Regions from separate parts of the Homo sapiens genome. Here regions 1 and 2 are each linked to region 3. The links are contacts of gene promoters, found by promoter capture Hi-C in blood cells and fetal thymus (Javierre and others, 2016). All regions are on one chromosome and are shown on one strand. The core of a region is centred on a gene start or on the middle of the fragment in contact, and the rest is flanking DNA. Distances in the headings are between cores, read along the strand shown.

What was found. The method cuts DNA at HindIII sites, captures the fragments that hold promoters and counts their contacts. A CHiCAGO score of 5 or more calls a contact.
Region 1: a contact is called between a fragment that was not itself captured here and the fragment with the promoter of CCN1 in region 3, in 1 of 17 cell types (endothelial precursors). The highest score is 5.1, in endothelial precursors.
Region 2: a contact is called between a fragment that was not itself captured here and the fragment with the promoter of CCN1 in region 3, in 1 of 17 cell types (endothelial precursors). The highest score is 7.6, in endothelial precursors.

The regions. Positions count from the first base shown.
Region 1 is chr1:85,700,138-85,702,837 of GRCh38, forward strand. It overlaps ZNHIT6 (zinc finger HIT-type containing 6), which reads right to left. Exons shown (of 10, transcript NM_017953.4): 5 at 2,020-2,123. Among named protein-coding and RNA genes, the nearest start is that of ZNHIT6, 6.9 kb to the right of the region's middle. The HindIII fragment of the contact is 735 bases long and covers 1,049-1,783 here.
Region 2 is chr1:85,683,807-85,686,506 of GRCh38, forward strand. All of the region lies in intron 5 of ZNHIT6 (zinc finger HIT-type containing 6), which reads right to left. Among named protein-coding and RNA genes, the nearest start is that of ZNHIT6, 23 kb to the right of the region's middle. The HindIII fragment of the contact is 2,868 bases long and covers 1-2,700 here.
Region 3 is chr1:85,579,178-85,582,021 of GRCh38, forward strand. CCN1 (cellular communication network factor 1) reads left to right here and starts at 1,584. Exons shown (of 5, transcript NM_001554.5): 1 at 1,584-1,870; 2 at 2,188-2,401; 3 at 2,751-2,844. The coding sequence starts at 1,808. RefSeq lists enhancers at 1,152-1,674, 1,405-1,454, 2,721-2,844 and silencers at 1,565-1,694, 2,125-2,184, 2,195-2,244, 2,255-2,304. The HindIII fragment of the contact is 3,344 bases long and covers 905-2,844 here.

The DNA.
Region 1 (2,700 bases), core at 166-2,665, 120 kb after region 3:
ATAGGTGATATTTTTCCTTTAAACTTTTTAATGATACAGATGTATTATTTTTACAATAGCTACTATAAACTGATTCCTTCCCACATGCCAGTTACTGCCTATGTGAATTAATACACTAAAAGGCCACAACTCTACAAGGTAGCTATCATGAGCTCCATTTTGCAGACGGTAAAAGACTAAGAAATGGATTCTAAAGCCTATTAGTACATACTATGTTGCTAATCTCCTCCTGGGAAACACTAAAAATGTAAGAAAACTGATCACAAATCTCTATAAATTTATGAGCAAAAGACTTATGCAAGAAGAATCTGATTTGCCATTTCAGAGACCCGGGGAGTTTCAAAACAACCAAAAATATATTAAACCTGGAAAATATACTGAGTGTAATATTCTCGGTAAAAACTTCCCGCATACATTCATGTACCTACAGACACAAAAATGTTATACTTGAGGCCATCTGCTTTTCATTACTGAGAACTAATCTCTGATTACAATCATTCTGAATAGTTTCTTTCATAAAACAGGAACACATTTTGTATTTGAGAAAGCACTAACCAGTTACCATAAACTTCTAACCAGTTACCATAAACTTCAAATTATGTCAATTTCTAAATATGCCAGTTTCAAAACGCACAAAAGAATCATCTCACATTTGATAAATGCAAGACATTACTTTACTTTTTTTTTGAGACAGGGTCTCATTCTGTCACCCAGACTGGAGTGCAGTGGTGCAATCTTGGCTCACTGCAACCTCCGCCTCCTGTGCTCAAGGGATGCTCCCACTTCAGCCTCCTGAGTAGCTGGGATCACAGGTGGGTGCCACTGCACCTGGCTAATTTTTGTATTTTTAGTAGAGACGAGGTTTCACCATGTTGCCCAGGCTGGTCTCAAACTCCTGGCCTCAAGGGATCCACCTGCTTCAGCATTACTTTACTTTTCGAAGACAACCAGGAAAAACGAAAAACCATTTTTACAAATGTTTATGTCTTATATAAAATAAATGGAAAACGTCATCTTCTAATTATGATAACAGCTTTGAAAAGATAGAAGCTTCACTAGAATAATGATAATTCTGATGGCTTTGTCTTTTCAATTTTTGGAAGAGTACAACTGGAAAGGCTCCGTAGTTTACCCGGGTCAACTCCCCACATCATACAACTGGGGCCCAGAGAAAGGAAGTTGATTTGTTCAAGGCCCCACAGTTACTAAGAGGCTGAAAAGGGAGGGACTCCCTCAAGTTTTTAAAAATTCTAAATCCAAAATCTTGACTTCTGAAAGGTATTATCTGATAATTTAGTTGGCTACTTAAAGAACTTTGGGATCCTGTTCTCTTCTGTACTCTTGGGGCCTTTTCAACCCAACATTTTCAGACAGCAGCAAACTAATCTCTGTTATATTATCTGTACTCAAGAGTTCAAAGTCCCCTTCTTCTACATTGACAGCTTTTAATTGAAATCTTATTTGGAAACCCAGTGGAGAAAGAAAATAAAAGCAGAGCTGCCTTGATTAAAACAGTACAGGCGTCCTGTTTTTACTCGTTTTGTCCTGGAAGCCCCTGAAATACTTTCTTGGTATCTTAGTTCTCAAAGAAACAGTTTATTTCTAATGTATGAGAGTGTTCCAGGGCGCTGCTACTCAAAATATGTTTCTCAAACAATGAGCATCATTGAGGAGCTTGTTAGAAATGCCCAATATCAAACTCCAACCCAGGCCTACTGAAAAATCACAACAAGCATACTTAACAAGATGCCTAGGTGACTGGTATGCACATTAATGTTTGAGAAGCTTCTCAAATGATATGAAGACACACACACACACACACACACACGCACACACTGCAAACCCAAATTTTTATTAGAGTTACATGACATACAATTACTACAGTTATCTTGTCATGGACCAATAACAAACAGTTTACAGAACCACACTTGGGGTAGCAATGCTCTATAGCAACCAAACCTTAAAGAATGATCCTGATCAAATCAGAATACCTGATATACTAAAAAGTTAGAAACTTACTTCTTATCAAAAAAGGTTGAATTCTCCTTCCTCTTGGTGAATCCATTGGGTAGAAGTTTTAAGTTAATACCTTGCCTCCGGGCACGATTTTTCATAAAGTACATCTAACAACAAAAACCAAACAGACAAATTAATTTTTAAATTCCTTAAATTTAAAAAGTGAGTAAAACAATGTTCAATAATAGTTAAGATTTACTGAGAACCTAAGTGTTACAACAGCTCTAAGCAGTAATCTCATGTAATCTTCACCATGATACTATGAGAATAGGTACTATCATCTCCATTTTAGCAATAAAAATTAGTGAGATCCCAACATCATACAGCTATCCCAGAGAGATAGAACCTGTATTCAAACCCTGGTCTGTCTAATTCCAGAGCTTGTGTTTCTAACCATATGTTCTGTGAGCCAAAGAAGAATTTAATGGAGATTAAACAAACAAAAACACAGGTCATTTGGCAATCACGGGGGCTACCTACACAATTCTTGATTTCTTTTACCGATGGTTTTACCAGTTAGCTGTATATATATATCACTGATTTTATTACTAGACAGCTCACTCAAGGGAAGAGCCAAGGCATTGCCTAGTACAAGGCCTAGCTTAAAGTAACCACTGTTGTGGGAAGCACAAAATGGGATATGAGAACATTCTGGCTCTGACATGTGTTATTACATTGACCACC
Region 2 (2,700 bases), core at 27-2,526, 100 kb after region 3:
AGCAGTGCTGATATTTTGGACTAGATAATTCTTTGCAAAGGACTTGGTCCTTTGCACTGCAGGACGTTTAGCAGCATCCTAGGACTCCACCCTCTAGATGAGTGTTCCACTAGGAACACTCATACACCCAGTTGTGGCCACCAAAAATGCTCCCAGAAATTGCAAATGTCCCCTGGAAGCAGAATCATCACTGTTTGAGAACCACAAGGATAAAGGTTTGAACATTTACAATTACTCCTAATGCATTAGAGCTACTGTTCCCTAAATTCAACAAAATGCCTTCAACTACAATAATGTCACTATACCCTTGGCATATCAACGTTCTCAAAAATGGTATTACTATACCTAGTATATTCTAGGTAACTTAGGGACTCCAAGATACCATGTTTAGAGTTGGGTGATAAGACTGGTGGAGTAATTGTGGCAACTTAATCCTTATGTTCCCTTCTGGACAATCTGACAAAGCAACAGAAACACTAACCTCTTCTGAGTCCTATGAAACCCAAGTAACTATTCATGCATAGCAAAGCTGTTTCCCTCTCCTCCTCTAAATATCAATACACACATGCATTCTCAATGAGGGCAGCATGGCCCCAAAGAGGGCAAAAACTGGTTCTCTGAAGGGCCAACAAAATCTTGCTATTTTAATGCTTGTGGCCCTACAAAGGGCTACTGTATGCAACAGATATACAGTGTATCTATGGTATCAAAATATCACGGCAGAAAGCTCCTTGGGAGGCAATAATAAAAAAAAAGTTGAAAAATACTTAGATGGCACTTGTATTAAATGAGGAAAATAAATATTTTATACTCATTTTCAGTGAGTTAATACAGAGCACTTATTTACCAACACTTGCTTACTAGAAACTGTTAAGGATCAGTCTCTCCGTGGCCCATTTGTTTACAAAAATAGAAAGAAAAGGGATCATTCTCTCCCACAGTTTCAAGAAAGTATGTGGATGAACACACACATTTAAGGAAAGAGGTTCTATAACCATAATCTAAATTATTCTTTTGACTTCATAACTTCAAATTGCAAATTTTCGTATGGGGAATACTACCACAATCCCAAGGAAAAAGATGCAAATCAAAAGTCATTAGGTCCTTTTAAATGGCACTGCTCTAATGTCACAATAAGATGTTCAAATTCATTAATAACCAAAGAAATGTATATATAAATAAAATATTTTTCCTTTTCAGGTTTGTAGAAATGTTTTTTAAATTAGAAATACTAAGGAAGTGTGGCAAAAGTGTGGCAACTTCATTGCTGACAGGAATATAAATTGGTGCAAGCTACTGGTAGTTCAATTTCATAAAAGCTATAAATAAAAATTTGTAATTGAAAAACTGTATATTTTTGCCTCAATAGTTTTATTCCTGGAAATGTATCCCAAGGAAATAATTGGTCAAGTAATGATATATATATAAAATGTCCACTGCACCACTTTATATAATAGAAAAAAATTAGAAACAACCTAAATGTACATCATCAGAAAGTTGATTAAATAAATCATGGTACATCTACATAATGAATTTTAAGTAGTCATAAAAGATGAGGCAGAACTTTATGTACTGATGTAGAAAAATGTGCATGTTGAATGATAGCCTTTATATTTAAAACACAGGTTTATACATATATTGGCAAGTATGAAGGCCATACCCCAAACTTTTAGCTATGATTATTTCTTGACATTATAAAAGGACTTGACTTAATTTTTACCTACGAATATGTCTGTATTATTAAATAAATCTTCCACATAATGATTTGTGGGCTTTTTTTTCCTTTTTTGAGACAAGGTCTCACTCTGTCGCCTGGGCTGGAGTGCAGTGGCCAAAAAGGGTTTGCTGCAGCCCTGACTTTCTGGGCTCAAGTGATCCTCTCGCCTCAGCCCCTGCAAGTAGCTACCACAGCTGGCTGTATTTTTGAATTTTAGTAGAGACAAGCTCTTGCTATGTTGCCCAGGCTGGTCTCCAACTCCTGAGCTCAAGTGACCCTCCTACCTTAGCCTCCCAAAGTGCTGAGATTACAGGTGTGAGCCACCGTACCTGGCTGATTTGTTACTTTTCATAATCAGTAAAGTCAAAGATGCATTCATGGGCGCATACAGGATGGCAGTGATAGAAAGAACAGGAATAATTTTAACATTCTTTTTTTTTTTTTCTTTTTTTTCTTGAGATGGAGTCTCGCTCTGTCGCCCAGGCTGGAGTGCAGTGGTGCGATCTCAGCTCACTGCAAGCTCCACCTCCTGGGTTCACACCATTCTCCTGTCTCAGCCTCTCTAGTAGTTGGGACTACAGGTGCCCGCCACCACACCTGATTAATTCTTTGTATTTTTAGTAGAGACGGGGTTTCACTATGTTAGCCAGGATGGTCTCAATCTCCTGACCTTATGATACGCCCGCCTCGGCCTCCCAAAGTGCTGGAATTACAGGTGTGAGCCACCGCACCCACCCTTAACATTCTTTTTAAACTTAAACATATTTCACTATTAGAAGTATTCATTTAAGAATTCTCTTTTGCCCCCTTTGAGAAAAAAAATATATATTTCTCTTTTTTATCTTAGAAACTAGTACTGAACCAGAACGAGGGTTACCTATCTCATCATTTTGATGGTCTCAAGGCTATCTTCCTAAGAAATGTGCCACAACTAAGAGTTACAAACGGAGGCTAAACTCAAAGAATGAAGATTTCTAATACAA
Region 3 (2,844 bases), core at 334-2,833:
TTGTGCTTATCAGGAAAGTCAGCATTAGCACTAAGGGCCTTTTCAAGCAAGACTGCTAAATTATGAAGTCTGAATAGCCTTAAACATTAAAAAGGATAAGTAGTTATCCTAGAGCATATGAGTCTTACATGATAATTTTTATTAAAATTATGCAAAAAGTTTTTGAAACTTGCAGGGAAAGTTTATCAATCACACTAATGGTATTGGTGATGTTCAAGTAAATTGTCTTGTGGTGGGGTCTTCTACTGAGTGTGTTGCAAGTAGAACGGGATCTTAAAATCTGCTGACATTTTTACTGCAAAATATTACATCCTAAATCTCTTTTCTGTACTTGGAGAGAAGGGCATTGCAATTCATTTAAAATGGGAGGCTTCCAGTGGTCCCTAGGAAAGGAGTTAAAAACCCCACAAAATGTCCAGCTTGAAGGAGTCTGCTTTTCCCAGAGATTCATAGGGCACAATGGTCCTGGAATCTGGTTTGGCCTTGCGGTCTTTGCAGGTGATGATTTCAGGCCACTCCACGGTGGTCTCCTGCACTTCTGGCTGGCTGCTTGGTTAGCATAGCCTCCTGCCCGCGGAGGGAGGCGGGAAGGGCTTACCCCGTCTCCTGCATCCGTGAGGAAGTATAAGTCAGCCTCCCGGAGAACTCCCCGCGTTCGTTTCCTCTCGGACTTCCAACCCAGGCAGTGGGCTGGAACTAAAGTGGGAACCTCCAAAAACAAACAAGTACAACATACCCAAAAGAGGGAAGGGCTGGAGGAGTGGGGGAGACCTCTGCCTGGGAATTTGCCAGACGATGGGCAAGTTTCCCCCCGCCCCACCCCCCCCCCGCCTTTTCATTCATAAATGCCACTGTGGGTATTAATTTGCAATTCACTGAACTTTGCTAATAAACATCATGCCAAAGCTTTGGGACTTGTTCCGAACACGCCTCTTTGAAGTCCACAAATATTCCTGACTCAGAGACACACTCCTCTTCCCCGTTCTACTCTTTCAACAGATAACTTGCCTCTCACCTTCGCTGTAAAAAAGCAAACAGCTCACTGCCTTCCCGGGTGAGGGCTTCAGTGGCTGCCCGGTCAACTCGCATCACCAAACAAAACGACTTTTGTTCCTCCCTCTCAGGTCCTCCCACCCACCCAGTCCAGGCAAAGTTCTGAACTGGCCCCCCTCGCCCCTCACGACCCTCCAACTACCATCACCACCATCACGCCCCAAAGAACCCTTCCCAACATAAGTCGTAATTTAAGGTGGAAAAAACGAACTGTTTTCTTGACGGGTCTGGGACACACACACACACACACACACACACACACACACCCCCCGAACTGTTTTCTTGACGGGTCTGGGAGACAGACACACACACAGACACACACACACACACACACACACACACACACACACACACACACACACACACACAAAGGTGCAATGGAGCCAGGGGAGGCGCTTGGCAGCAGCCCGCGCCAACCAGCATTCCTGAGATGTTTGAGAATTCTGGAACGCGCAGACAGAGCCGACGTCACTGCAACACGCGGCGCCTCCGCCGGCCCGTATAAAAGGCGGGCTCCGGGGCGCCTGGGCAGACCGCGAGCGAGAGCGCCCCCGAGCAGCGCCCGCGCCCTCCGCGCCTTCTCCGCCGGGACCTCGAGCGAAAGACGCCCGCCCGCCGCCCAGCCCTCGCCTCCCTGCCCACCGGGCCCACCGCGCCGCCACCCCGACCCCGCTGCGCACGGCCTGTCCGCTGCACACCAGCTTGTTGGCGTCTTCGTCGCCGCGCTCGCCCCGGGCTACTCCTGCGCGCCACAATGAGCTCCCGCATCGCCAGGGCGCTCGCCTTAGTCGTCACCCTTCTCCACTTGACCAGGCTGGTGAGTTGGACTCTCCTTTTGCCACCTATTCCCCGTCCGCTCTCCAGCCCCTTCCCCTGGTCCCAGATTGCCCACGGCAGGAAAAGTTAAAAAGTTCGCGATCGTTTGCGGGTAGCCGTTTCTTTAAGCACTCTCCCCCTCCCCCCGAAGACGTGTCGGGACCTCTTGGTGGGAGCAGCCTTCCGAGGTGGCCGGGCTGGACGAGATCAGAGGCTCCCCGTCGATAGGGTCGGAGACCCCCGTCCCTCACTGCGGCAGCCGCGGCGCCCCTCCTGCGCACCGCGCCGAGTCTCACGCGTATCTTCTCCCCCTTCCAGGCGCTCTCCACCTGCCCCGCTGCCTGCCACTGCCCCCTGGAGGCGCCCAAGTGCGCGCCGGGAGTCGGGCTGGTCCGGGACGGCTGCGGCTGCTGTAAGGTCTGCGCCAAGCAGCTCAACGAGGACTGCAGCAAAACGCAGCCCTGCGACCACACCAAGGGGCTGGAATGCAACTTCGGCGCCAGCTCCACCGCTCTGAAGGGGATCTGCAGAGGTAAGATGCTTGTGGTTTGGCCCCTTTAAAAAAAATACTAGTCCCCATAGTCCAGAAGTTTAGTAATTCTGAGACCATGTATGGTGATGCTTTGTTGTTGGTAGCTTGGCAGAAAGGCACATGATTTCAGCAGTCTGGAATGCAATTCAGTGTGTCTGGGCCCAACGAAAGCGCATACGGAAAAGTGATTCCTGACTAACTTATTGTTCTGGTCTGGAGTCTCCGGGGAATTGTAGGGAACTTTACCATAAATTGAATTTAACAGCAGAAAATATGTATGAGTTTCAGGCGGTGGTTTGGAATCTTAACTTTATCCCCTTCTACCTTTCTCTTTTGGTGATCTTTGCAGCTCAGTCAGAGGGCAGACCCTGTGAATATAACTCCAGAATCTACCAAAACGGGGAAAGTTTCCAGCCCAACTGTAAACATCAGTGCACATGTAT